2 separate regions of the Homo sapiens genome follow, and region 1 is linked to region 2. The links are contacts of gene promoters, found by promoter capture Hi-C in human tissues and cell types (Jung and others, 2019). All regions are on one chromosome and are shown on one strand. The core of a region is centred on a gene start or on the middle of the fragment in contact, and the rest is flanking DNA. Distances in the headings are between cores, read along the strand shown. Region 1 overlaps COL6A3 (collagen type VI alpha 3 chain). Region 2 holds the start of MLPH (melanophilin).

Region 1 (6,199 bases), core at 1,939-4,438, 140 kb after region 2:
GTCCCTCAATATTGAAATTGGTGAGTTTCAAAAAATAATGGAAAAGATAATTCAGGAGTTGGAAAATCATTCCTAGAAGGAAAGGTTCAGGGCTTAGTTTGGTTGAATTAGGGAAAAGAAAGCTGGTCAGGTGGGTCTGATTGCTGTCTTTAAGTAGGTGAAGTGTTGGGGGGAGCACATTAAGCCAGTTCCTGCAGAAGACCAAGCAGGCAGAAATAGCCTCCTGGAAAGACAACTAATGGCCCATGAGATGCCTGCTGGGCTGTCAGGGTGGTGAGGTTTAGGCATGGGACACTGAGGGAAGCCACGAGTCAGTCCCTAGAGCTCCTCGGGGTGGAATTCAGCTGGGATGCTTTAGACACGGAGGGAGCCAGGGCAGCTCAATGATCTCTCACTGCCCCTTCGGCAGGGGACAGCGTATCAAGCGTGTGAAAGGGAGCTCTTTTCTCAAGAGAAGCAGAATCTAGACCCAGGTTCACTCGTGGGCTTTACATGGATTGGTGGTGAGCTTCCTGGTTTCAGAACATGAGACTATTTCAAAGGCCAAATGACCTCCCAGGGAAACACATTTGCTCCAGAATCTTCTCTTTTTTGCTTTGCAAGGGATAAGATCAGGTTTAGAGGGAGAGGCTGTAAACAATCAAGGTTATCCAGGGGCCCCTTTGTCTTGCTCTGTGTATTTCTGGGGGCCAAAGCCTGTTTATTCGAATTCCCCATCTGCTGTGCCTCTCACCTTTCGTTCCTTGGTTTTACAGGGTCCCAAGGGCAACAGGGGCGACTCCATCGATGTAAGTTGCATGTGTCCAGAATGACTCATTAACCTCATGAGCCTTTGATTTGCTCTCTTTACATATTCTTTTATTTTCTTTTAAAGCAATGTGCCCTCATCCAAAGCATCAAAGATAAATGCCGTAAGTACATGATTTTCTGTTGTCTCACAATGCATATTTTTACATTCGAAATTCTCACATGGTAGAGTAGTCTCTCACCCTTTCTTCTCTTTGCTTCTTTTCTAGCTTGCTGTTACGGTAAGTTGATTTTGGTGACTTTCTCCTAAGGAAAGGAAGCCTCCCTTTTGTAGTAAGTACAGTTTGTCTTTAACCCTCCACCCTCTACTTTCCACAGGGCCCCTGGAGTGCCCCGTCTTCCCAACAGAACTAGCCTTTGCTTTAGACACCTCTGAGGGAGTCAACCAAGACACTTTCGGCCGGATGCGAGATGTGGTCTTGAGTATTGTGAATGACCTGACCATTGCTGAGAGCAACTGCCCACGGGGGGCCCGGGTGGCTGTGGTCACCTACAACAACGAGGTGACCACGGAGATCCGGTTTGCTGACTCCAAGAGGAAGTCGGTCCTCCTGGACAAGATTAAGAACCTTCAGGTGGCTCTGACATCCAAACAGCAGAGTCTGGAGACTGCCATGTCGTTTGTGGCCAGGAACACATTTAAGCGTGTGAGGAACGGATTCCTAATGAGGAAAGTGGCTGTTTTCTTCAGCAACACACCCACAAGAGCATCCCCACAGCTCAGAGAGGCTGTGCTCAAGCTCTCAGATGCGGGGATCACCCCCTTGTTCCTTACAAGGCAGGAAGACCGGCAGCTCATCAACGCTTTGCAGGTCTGTGCTCTGTGCGTGCTGTTGGCATCTCCCTTTCTTCTGGGGCTCTGAGAAGGTTCTCAGACACGTCCATGCTCCTTTGTGGCTTCATGTCCCATAGCTCCTAAAACGTCCCCAATGAGGCCATCTGCCTGAGAACTTCTCTTGTGAGGTCTCCAGGACAACCTCGTGGCTCCAGCACTACAGGGACGCCTACATGCTTGTAGCACTGCCCCCAGGTCCCTCCTCACATGTTGACAGCTCTTGCCGGTTAGTGATGCTAGTGTTGGTGACACTCTCTATCTACTAACAAGGTGGTGTGACTTGTTTGCTTTATTCATGAGGACCTGGACGTTTGCATCCTTCCTGTCTCCTCCCAAGATGGCCCCCTGTGCACACTCTGAGCTGTGTCTTACTGTGTACTGGGCATTTGCTTCCCATAACTGGCTGGTGAGGTTTGTATCATCAGTCTCACCTCATGGATAGGAAGATCCTGCTGTTAGTGAGGTGCTCGTGAGAGGCTAGGACCCTAGTCCATTAGACTCTGAAACCCATGTGCTGATGATACCCATTCCAGTCTCCACTCTGTCCCAATCGGCCCTGAAGGTGAATATCCAGGGTGGCCCTGGAGGCCTGTAGTCTCTCAGTGAGGTCCCCAAAACTATGCCGACTCAGCACCCCCAATCTACACCACACCACTGTGCAAAGCTTTCTTCAGTGAGGCCCCAAGGGTCAGCCCACGGAGAGGCCAAGTGTCGCTTGTAATTCTATTAAATAACTGGTTTAATTGTGTGTTTTTTTTTTTTTTTTTTTTTTTTTTTTTTTTTTTTTTTTTTTTTTTTTTTTTTTTTTTTTTGAGACAGAGTCTTGCTCTGTCACCCAGGCTGGAGTGCAATGGCGTGATCTCGGCTCACTGCAACCTCCACCTTCCAGTTTTAAGTGATTCTCCTGCTTCAGCCTCCTGAGTAGCTGGGATTACAGGCACTCGCCACCATGCCTGGCTAATTTTTGTATTTTTCTTTCTTTTTTTTTTTTTTAGTAGAGACGGGGGTTTCACCATATTGGTCAGACTGGTCTCGAACTCCTGACCACGTGATCTGCCTGCCTCGGCCTCCCAAAGTGCTGGGGTTACAGGCGTAAGCCACCGCACCCAGACAACTAGTTTAATTCTTACATCAATTAATATTTATTCAGTGCAGTTCTGGCGATACTGTTCAAGACAGATGGGTGATGGGTAGGAAGGAGTCCACCCGGGAGTCAGGAGGCCTTGGCCTGGTTCCACACTCCCCCCACCCATTTAAAGTAATGTGCACGCCACTTAGCGTCCCTGCGTCTCAGATTTTTCACCTGTAAATTGAGACTGGGGCAGGATGATTGCTAATGTCTTTCCTTCCACATTGGATATTCTATGCTTTTACCACAGCCTGTGTCGGCGAAAGACATTGGGTCATCACTGCCATTCCTCAGGGCTTGTTCTGCCGAACACAGGATGATTTGTGCATAGAGCGCTGGGCTTGGGAATTCAGTGTTGAAGTTGGGCTACCGGCCATGTGCTCTTGATGGGGGGATTCATTCACATAAGTCTGTCCTTGTGTGGGCTGAGGGACCCAGAACCACGTGAGTTTCTTAGCATGGTTTCAACGAGATCAAAAAATTGTTCATTCATTAATTATTTGCTCATTCATTCATTCAAACTAGCTATTTGTTAAATGAATAATTACTAATCGTGTGCCAGGTACGGCGATAGACAGGACTCTTTGCACCCACTGGGAGTGATTTTGTTACTTGCTTTAACCACACCTGAGAGGGTGGGGAAGGGATGGAGCTCCCATATTGTTGCTAAAAATAACGATAAGATTAAGTTCCTACTATTTGCCAGAGGATACACCAGTTACTAACATTTATTATCTAATTTAACCCTCCAAATGACACCATTAGGAAGGTATTACCCCCCATTTTACAGCTGAAAAAAACTGAAACCCATTTGAACGGGATATGAACTCCAGCTCACCCTAGTAGAATAAAACCTATGTCTTTCTATTATACTCAGAGCCTAACCCCACCCCCAAATGAGAAGATATTCCCAATACTGCCCTATTGGGAAGTTAATCTATTTTATTGATGTAGCTTTGATTTACTCCTCTGCCATATTTTCAGATATTACTGATCATGTACGCCCCTACCAAAATTGTTCTTTTGTTTAAACCAGATCAATAACACAGCAGTGGGGCATGCGCTTGTCCTGCCTGCAGGGAGAGACCTCACAGACTTCCTGGAGAATGTCCTCACGTGTCATGTTTGCTTGGGTAAGCTGTTTCTCTAACAGGAAGATCTGCTCAGCTGCAATTGCAAAACATAATATCCATGGGAGAGTGAGAGAATAATGATGATCTGTAAAAAGAGCTTGAGTTCAATTGATTCACAAAGCCTCGTATTTACCAGAGTAAATACTACTGCAGCAGTTTCTATATTAAAAATGGACCTCCCAAAACAGAGCTTCTCTTTGATGGCGGATAATTCATTTTATAGGTAACAAAGGAGGAGGCAGTTTCTGCTTAAGTTTTGACATTAGAATCTAGAATGAAAACATTGGCACTAGTGACTTTCTAGAACATATTTCTTCAAAGAGTGGCAGAGAAGTAATATAATTTTTCATTTCTTTTAAAAATGCCAGCACATGGTATGCTACAAAGATTTTAGGTTAGTGATTTGTTTCATCTACTAAGTATTAGGTGATAGAAACTGAAATCTGGCCATAATCAAATCAAGGCAAGATATAAATTGGTTTTGGTTGTGATGTTTTTTTTTTTTTTTTTTTTTTTTTTTTAGACAGAGTCTTGCTCTTGTTGCCCAGGCTGGAGTGCAGTGGCACAATCTTGGCTCACTGCAACCTCTGCTTCCTGGGTTCAAGCGATTCTCCTGCCTCAGCCTCCAGAGTAGCCTAGATTACAGGCATGCGCCATCAGGCCCAGCTAATTTTTGTATTTTTAGTAGAGACAGGGTTTCACCATGTTGGCCAGGATGATCTCGATCTCTTGACCTCGTGATCCACCTGCCTCGGCCTCCCAAAGTGCTGGGATTACAGGCGTGAGCCACCGCTTCCGGCCCGCTTTTGATCTTATGTGATCATTTTAATCGCCCAAGTCTCCCAGCAGATTGATGAGCTGTGTATCCTGCTGTGGGTGTCACAGAACAAATAGGCTGCCATGCTTCTTTCTAGACATCTGCAACATCGACCCATCCTGTGGATTTGGCAGTTGGAGGCCTTCCTTCAGGGACAGGAGAGCGGCAGGGAGCGATGTGGACATCGACATGGCTTTCATCTTAGACAGCGCTGAGACCACCACCCTGTTCCAGTTCAATGAGATGAAGAAGTACATAGCGTACCTGGTCAGACAACTGGACATGAGCCCAGATCCCAAGGCCTCCCAGCACTTCGCCAGAGTGGCAGTTGTGCAGCACGCGCCCTCTGAGTCCGTGGACAATGCCAGCATGCCACCTGTGAAGGTGGAATTCTCCCTGACTGACTATGGCTCCAAGGAGAAGCTGGTGGACTTCCTCAGCAGGGGAATGACACAGTTGCAGGGAACCAGGGCCTTAGGCAGTGCCATTGAATACACCATAGAGAATGTCTTTGAAAGTGCCCCAAACCCACGGGACCTGAAAATTGTGGTCCTGATGCTGACGGGCGAGGTGCCGGAGCAGCAGCTGGAGGAGGCCCAGAGAGTCATCCTGCAGGCCAAATGCAAGGGCTACTTCTTCGTGGTCCTGGGCATTGGCAGGAAGGTGAACATCAAGGAGGTATACACCTTCGCCAGTGAGCCAAACGACGTCTTCTTCAAATTAGTGGACAAGTCCACCGAGCTCAACGAGGAGCCTTTGATGCGCTTCGGGAGGCTGTTGCCATCCTTCGTCAGCAGTAAGTCCTGCGTGGCACAGCATGTGCCCTGGCCTGGCTTTATGCTCGGGCCAGGAGAAGTGTAGGAACAGTCATGGAAAAGACAACCGATGTGTTGACAGGAACTGTTTCATTCATTGAACAGACATATATTGACACCTGCCATATGCCACAAATGCTTTTAGGAGCCAGAGTAAGCAGGGAACATGCAGACAGTATCCTTGTTCTCATTGATTCCTTTATTCCACCACATTTGACCAAGCGCCACCTAGTCATAAGGCACTCTTGGTGTCCTTAACAGTTTACAAATGGGTGGGCAAATGGATCAAATGCACATTTATTACGCATGACATAATAGGCTGGCATGTCGCGAGAGAAGTGATTTCTGTTAGGGGCACCGGGGAAAGCTTCTAGAAAGAGTTGCTTTGATCGGGGCTTAGCCACCAGCCCCGTGCTTGGATACCACTGGGTCTTTGCTCATGGGGCTCCCCCTCCCTGGAATGCTCTCCACCGCACTTCAGCAGCAAACCCATATTCATCTTCAAAGTTCAATTCCAATGGCTTCTGCTCGCCGTGGAAGCTGCTGCTCCCAAGGCCTGCTCATGGTTAATCCGGACACCCTATTTAGGGCATCTATTACCTGGCCTGTTGATCATTTATTTGTGGGTCTGTGGTCCCCTAGACTGCTCTTTGAGGAGGTGCA
Region 2 (6,085 bases), core at 3,551-6,050:
TCATTCAGAATCTGCCTTTGAACAAGATCTCCAGGCAGCTCGAGTGCACGTGTTGGCCCATGCTGTTGTCCTCAGACCCCTCTGAGTAGCAAAGCTCTAGGGGAGACTCATTCACTTGGGTAGTGGGCGGCGAGTCACAGAGGACCTTGGCCTGTACATCCTGTCAGGTGGTTGATGGGTGTGAGGCAGGGGAGTGATGCAGTGGTGGTGGCTGAGCAGAGAATGACAGATCCACTTGCTGGCTTTTCATATGGCAATATCACACAGGCCTCACAGCTTATATTGATGTGGACATTACTGCTGGGTATAAAATTGGAGGAACAATTGTACCAGGGAGAACTTCACCACCAATGCATGCACACTGGGACACTGCAAAACTGTGCACGCTCCCCACAGAGGACTTCCCTGATCATCCTGTGGTTTTTACTCCTTCACCTGTCCCCATCCCTTTAACGTTTCTTTATACCCCTTAACAGTTGGTGATGTCTCATTAGTTATTGTTAAGCTCCACAAGAATAGCACCTCTGTCCGTTCCCAGCACATGGCAGGTGCTTTTCTGTGCTTGCAGCTCCCTGGTGTGCAGCAGGCTGTGCCAGGGAAGCCCTCGGCCCTCAGATGCTGCAGCTACAGACAGACCAGCTCTGCTCTGGGCACTGACGCTTTGGGGAATGGATGACTGGGAGTTCTGTTGTGAGTAACTGAAAGTTTAAAAACCACCTCGTAATTTCAATAAGTTTTCCTTGAGGACTTGAACCTATTTTCTCAGGAACATTAGAGAAGGGGTCCAATCTGTGTGCTTTCAGGGGGAAGTCTCAAAACCACCAAAAAGACACAATTTTGCTTCTGAATTCTGAGAAGCATCTCCCATCAGTGCTGCTGACCATTTGGAAGCGTTTATCATAAAAATACTAACAAAACTCCCCCTGTGCTGGAGACGTACTTCGATTTTGTTGCACAAGAGGTTAACTATGAAAAGGGACATTTTCTGGGCAGATACCATTTAAAATAAAAATGTCTACAGAGCTGTCATGGAAGTCAGCCAAAATAGTCCCTGGCTTATGCCATAAAAATGGAGAAGGATAATTCGTTGAATTTTTTTGCACCCATTCGTCAACATTTCCACTCTCAAACATAAAGTTGAGTGTTTGCAATACAAGAAGAGATTGCCCCAATGCCCTGGGAGCATTCAAACTCTGTTCCTTTACAGTCAGATTTAGGTTCTGGTCAAGAAATGGACTTACTACCGAACTCATTTTTGATGCTCTCACAGAGCACACACTTTCTGGTTTCTAAAGAATTGGAACAAAAAGTTATTATTTGATGCATGACTGGAGTTCATTCACTTTTATTTTTCATGAGTTCTGAAAAAAAAGGGATCATAAGAAGAGCATTCACCGACATTCTATTTTCAGAATGGATGGACAGTGTGACCATCAGCTGAGGCATTATCATTCCCTCTCTTCTCCTAACATAGAAGCCAAAATTCCAGGCCTCAGTTTGAGAAACTTAAATCATGATGTGTGAGGAAGAAAAGCAAAACAAAAGGAAAAACCTGCTTTTCTTGTCTTGCAAGCTTCACATTCTTAGAGCACAGTCAGTGACCAGGAAGTGAATGGATAAAAAGATCACAGAGCATCACAACCAATGTCCTAGAGGCTGCTTGGATATCTGTCCCTCCCCCATTCTATCCCCTTTCAAATGGTTTTCTTTCTTTTTTTTTTTTAGATGAGGTCCTGGTCTGTCGCTCAGGCTGCAGTGCGATAGTGCAATCATGGCTCACTGCTGCCTCGACCTCCATGGGCTCAGGGAGGTGAGGGCAGAGAATATGCTAGACCCATGAGGAGTGCAGGGCTGCTCTGTGCCTGCCCTAGCTGGGTGGGGTGGGGGCTCCCAGAGTATGTGCTGGGGGAGGGCAGACGCCACCCTGCTCTATCTGCTCCTTGTTCCATTTCTGTTTAGATAACGCCTGCTCACGAGGTTCCTGAACAAAACACTTCCACTTACTGCCTGTTCCACTGCTCAGATTCGATCATATTTTAAACATTGGAGACAGCCAGCCTTCCCCAGCAGTTGAATAGCCATAGTGGGGCAGAGGGACGGGACACAGGGATTAATAGGCAGGGAGGAGAGAGTGGAGCTGGTTTTATAAGATGGGTATCCCAGGCCCAGACTGCTGAATTCCAGTAGTGTGTCATCTTTATCCGCTAAAGAGTTGAATTAATTTTTTGGCCAAATTGAAGGGAAATCAGGGTGGGGGTTCCTCCTGGATGAAGAATTGGCTTAACTAGCTCTTGGGCTGGCTGCTTGGGGAGCCTTGGAACAATGGTGATTGTGGGTGATTACTCGCCTGGGCAAACAAACTGGCAAGCTAACAACAGCAGGAATGCTCTCTCTGACTCAGAGCCAAGGTGTGTCGTGTGGTGTTATTCTTGCTGATAAAGGGGAGGTGGCAGAGATGACAACTGTAGTGCCCTCTGCCTTAATCCTTTGTGGCTGTTTCCCGAATGCTGCCGTCCAGGTCAGCCTGTATGGTTATTTCTATAGGTGGGGCCCATCAGTAGGCACTGACCCCCAGCTCTCATCAGTGGCTAAATGAGCACATTTCCACCTAGAAGGGCCACTCCCTTCCCTACAAGTGAACCAGGCACATCTGTGCTGTAGCCACAAGGGTCTGGAATGGCCCCAGCAGCAACAGCACTGGGAGGGTGTTCTGCCCCTCAGCCACCTGCCCACCAACTTGCCATCCCCTCTGCTCTCCCAGTTCTCTGGGGAGTTGGTGGTAAACCTCATTTATAAATGGACATGAGTTCTGCATTTACACCTAAAGCCTCAGTGCTAGTCTCTACCGCAAGGATGGGTCCCAGGTGAGGCTGTAGGAGGATGGTGCTGAGAGGTGGGAGCTGGGTTCCCATCCCAGTTCAGGCACAGCCAGCCCAGCCACCTGGGAAAGATGCCCCTCCTCTCAGGGTCTTAGTTTCCCCATCTGTACCATGGACAATGGCTGAGCTCCAAGACCTCTCTGGCCCTCTCCAGCCCTGGATGATGCCAGGATGTTGAAATTAAGAGGGGGAGTGATGGTGTGGGGGTAGTGGGGAGGAGTAGGGGCAAAGACTGTTCCTCCAGAGGTTGCTTCTGAAAAGAACAAGACAGTTGGCCCTAGAAGGCTGCCCCAACCACTGAGACTGGGGCTTATTTGAGCCGTTATTGCATTGTGGTTGAAAGGCACCAATTTCACTTTTCCCATTAGCCCACAGGGCTCTGGGACACTTCCACCACCTCCAGCCCCTCACTGGGCACACATTCAGCTGGTTTGTTTTAATTTTTTTCTGAGTCACTCATGTCGTACTCAGTAAGACCCACTGACTCCCCATGTGTGTGCCGGGCACCATCCCATGTTCTCTAAATGTGTCCTCAGTCAATCCTCTGAGGCACCTGCTACTGTTCTTAGAGCCTGAGTGAGGGCCAGGAGCACAGTGACCCATGCCTGGTACTTAGATACTAAGGAGCACGGTCCTGGGCAGGGAGGGGGCTGGGCCCAGGAAGGCTGAGGCCTTACTGAGGTCAGCTGAATCCCGCCAATGAGCAGGTGGAGGGATGTGTTTCCTAGGACAGATGCAGGCCAGCTGGAGGGATGGGTTTCCTAGGACAGATGCAGGCCAGCTGGAGGGATGGGTTTCCTAGGACAGATGCAGGACAGCTGAACCCGGGGTGTCAATGTCACTGCTCAGCAACGCGGTCTGCAAGTCCAGAAGCCTTTTCCTGAGACTTCACAGCCCCCAGCAATGCTGGCCTTTGCACCTATTGGGAGCCTTGCTCTCCCCCGACTGTCATTTCACTCCCTCAGAAAGAAATAAGTGAAGAAGATACCAGTCACACCATCTAAAAAAGGACCTGTCCCAAGTTCCGTGTGGAAGTGAGGTGGAGTTTCCAGTGCCAGTTAATGTCAGTGGGACGCGGTGTCTAAGCCCGGGGAAGGGATTTACAAGTGAGATTCCGTTCCTGTAGGGACTTGGGGCTAGTAGGGACGAAGCCCACAGGTGCTCACAGCTCACAGACCCTTCCCACATCTCTACTTCCCACACCTCCCTGGTGGGCCCAGGGAGTCTGTCTGCAAACAAAAGGTGATTCCAATAAAACAGACTTTTAGACGCCCAGAGGAAGCCAGGTGCCTCCTCCCAGGCCAAGATCATCTGGCCTCTTCCTCACCCCAAGACCAGCTCCTGGGCTGGGAGGAAACCTTTCCCCTGGGGCCAGCCTACTTGGCATCAGCAGCCTTGGCCCAGTCTGCATGGCAGACTCGCAATGGAGGCAATGGAGCTTCTGATTAAAACCAACCGTTTTGCCCAAAATGGGGATCCCCCGCCATCCCACTCCCACCCGTGCCTGCACCCAGAGCAGTCTGCTCAAAGAATCCAGGTGAAGCCTGGGGGACTAAGGCTGGGTGGCTGGGAACGCGCTGTCCTCACCAGCCTGGACCGAGGCCGGGAGGCTGGCGGCTGGGGGCGTTTTCACACCAGTGGGTCTGCACGCGACACCGCGCACCCCCCAAAGCCTAAGCCCCGAGTCCTGGGCGCCACCCTGGCCCCGCTGTTCCCTCTTCTCAGTGCACTCACCGGACCCTCTCCGGGGGACGCTCAGTCCCTGGTCCAGCACCTGGGAGAGAAAGGAGGCGACGAAGCAGGGCGTCAGGCCAGGGCGTCAGGTCAGGGCGCCGGGGCAAGGCTGGATAATGGGGGCAAGCAGGGCGCGGGGCGCAGAGCGGCTGGTTAGCGCCTGGCTCTCCGGGGCAGGCGGGCAACTGGCCACGTCCCGGCGCCTCCCGCCCGAACCACGTGGGCTGCGCCCCGCTCCGCCCAGCTCCGGGAGCGCGGACACCTCTGGATGCCCTGCCAGGCAGAGGGCGGAACGGAACGGACACCTGGGGCGCCCGCGCGGGAAGCGCCAGTGCGGGGGAGAGCCCCGGATACTCGACCCCCAAGCCAGTTTGGGGAGAAAGACGGCGGCGGGGAGGGGAAAGTTGAGCACACAGCTGCGATTCCCGTGAGTTGCGGCGACTTTGCATAGGTGACATCGCGCCGCGGTCCTGCCTTGGGCACGGTGGGACCCGCTTGCTGAGCGCGCTCTAGAGCGCGCGGCACATCGTCGAAATTTCTAACTCTGCAGGGAAAGCGCTATGTACTTCGGCTTTACAAATGGGGAAACTGAGGCTCAGAAACGCGCCCTACCAAAGCCACCGACCAGTAAGTGGCAACGCCAAATAATAAATAGGACTTTAAGCCCAGGGCTTTCTGCTGCAGAGAGCGTACCCTCACCCCTTCGATTCTGCCAGGCATCAGGACCAGGAGGGTCCCGCAGCCGCGGGCAGCCCTGCTGCGGGGAGGAGACCGAGGCCTTGCCCGCCAAGAAAAAGTCAAGATCCGCGGGCAAATGGGGCAGATGTGGAAGCCAGGACGCGCGGCGCGGTGGTTCCAGGACCGAGGACGCGCTGCGGGGAACGCCTGGGAGCTCCGCGCCGCTGCGCTCTTCTCCTGGACTCTAGGGCCGGCCTTTGGGTGCTCAGCGGGGCCCGCAAGCTCAGAGGGTCCCAAGGCGAGCCGCCGTCTCCAGTCCGCCCGGCCTGCCTGTCCTTCCGAATTCCAATGGACATTAGGGAATTGCCCTCCTCCCTCATCCTCCAAGACTGGGCGCTTCAGAATTTTCTCTCCCTCCCCCTCCCTCTCCCTTGTCACTTAAAAACTCACATTCTGTTCTCCAGGAACCGCTTTTGCAATTCAGTTTTCCTATCTGCAAAATGATAGGAATAAAGCCATTAGGTGAATGAATAGATACTAGTATCTCCATTTAACAGAAGAGGAATCAAAACCTTATAGGATTGTTGTGATATCACATTAGATTATTTGTAAACAGCTTTCAAAAGGCTGCAAAAGAACAAAAAAGAATGTTGTTGCCTGCTGAGCCCAGGGGAACACTGTAGGTGAATCAGGGTATTTCAGGCCCCTGGGCTGCTTTGAGACAGGTGCTCTTACCAAACACCATCAATTGTTGAGTGTGAACCCTGGAATAGAGTGAAGCTTACACTGAAGCC

What was found. Contacts are between HindIII fragments. The study calls those that stand out against the background at their distance.
Region 1: a contact is called between a fragment that was not itself captured here and the fragment with the promoter of MLPH in region 2, in 1 of the 25 tissues and cell types used here (IMR-90 fibroblasts).

What each region holds. Positions count from the first base shown.
Region 1 is chr2:237,339,770-237,345,968 of GRCh38, reverse strand. COL6A3 (collagen type VI alpha 3 chain) reads left to right here. Exons shown (of 44, transcript NM_004369.4): 33 at 756-788; 34 at 875-911; 35 at 1,017-1,028; 36 at 1,126-1,619; 37 at 3,808-3,904; 38 at 4,819-5,517. Among named protein-coding and RNA genes, the nearest start is that of COL6A3, 71 kb to the left of the region's middle. The HindIII fragment of the contact is 6,001 bases long and covers 188-6,188 here.
Region 2 is chr2:237,485,966-237,492,050 of GRCh38, reverse strand. It overlaps MLPH (melanophilin), which reads right to left and starts at 4,800. Exons shown (of 16, transcript NM_024101.7): 1 at 4,614-4,800. LOC105373957 (a long non-coding RNA gene) reads left to right here and starts at 4,903. Exons shown (of 2, transcript XR_001739962.2): 1 at 4,903-5,240; 2 at 5,330-6,085. RefSeq lists a silencer at 1,471-1,765 and an enhancer at 4,965-5,933. The HindIII fragment of the contact is 7,222 bases long and covers 3,823-6,085 here.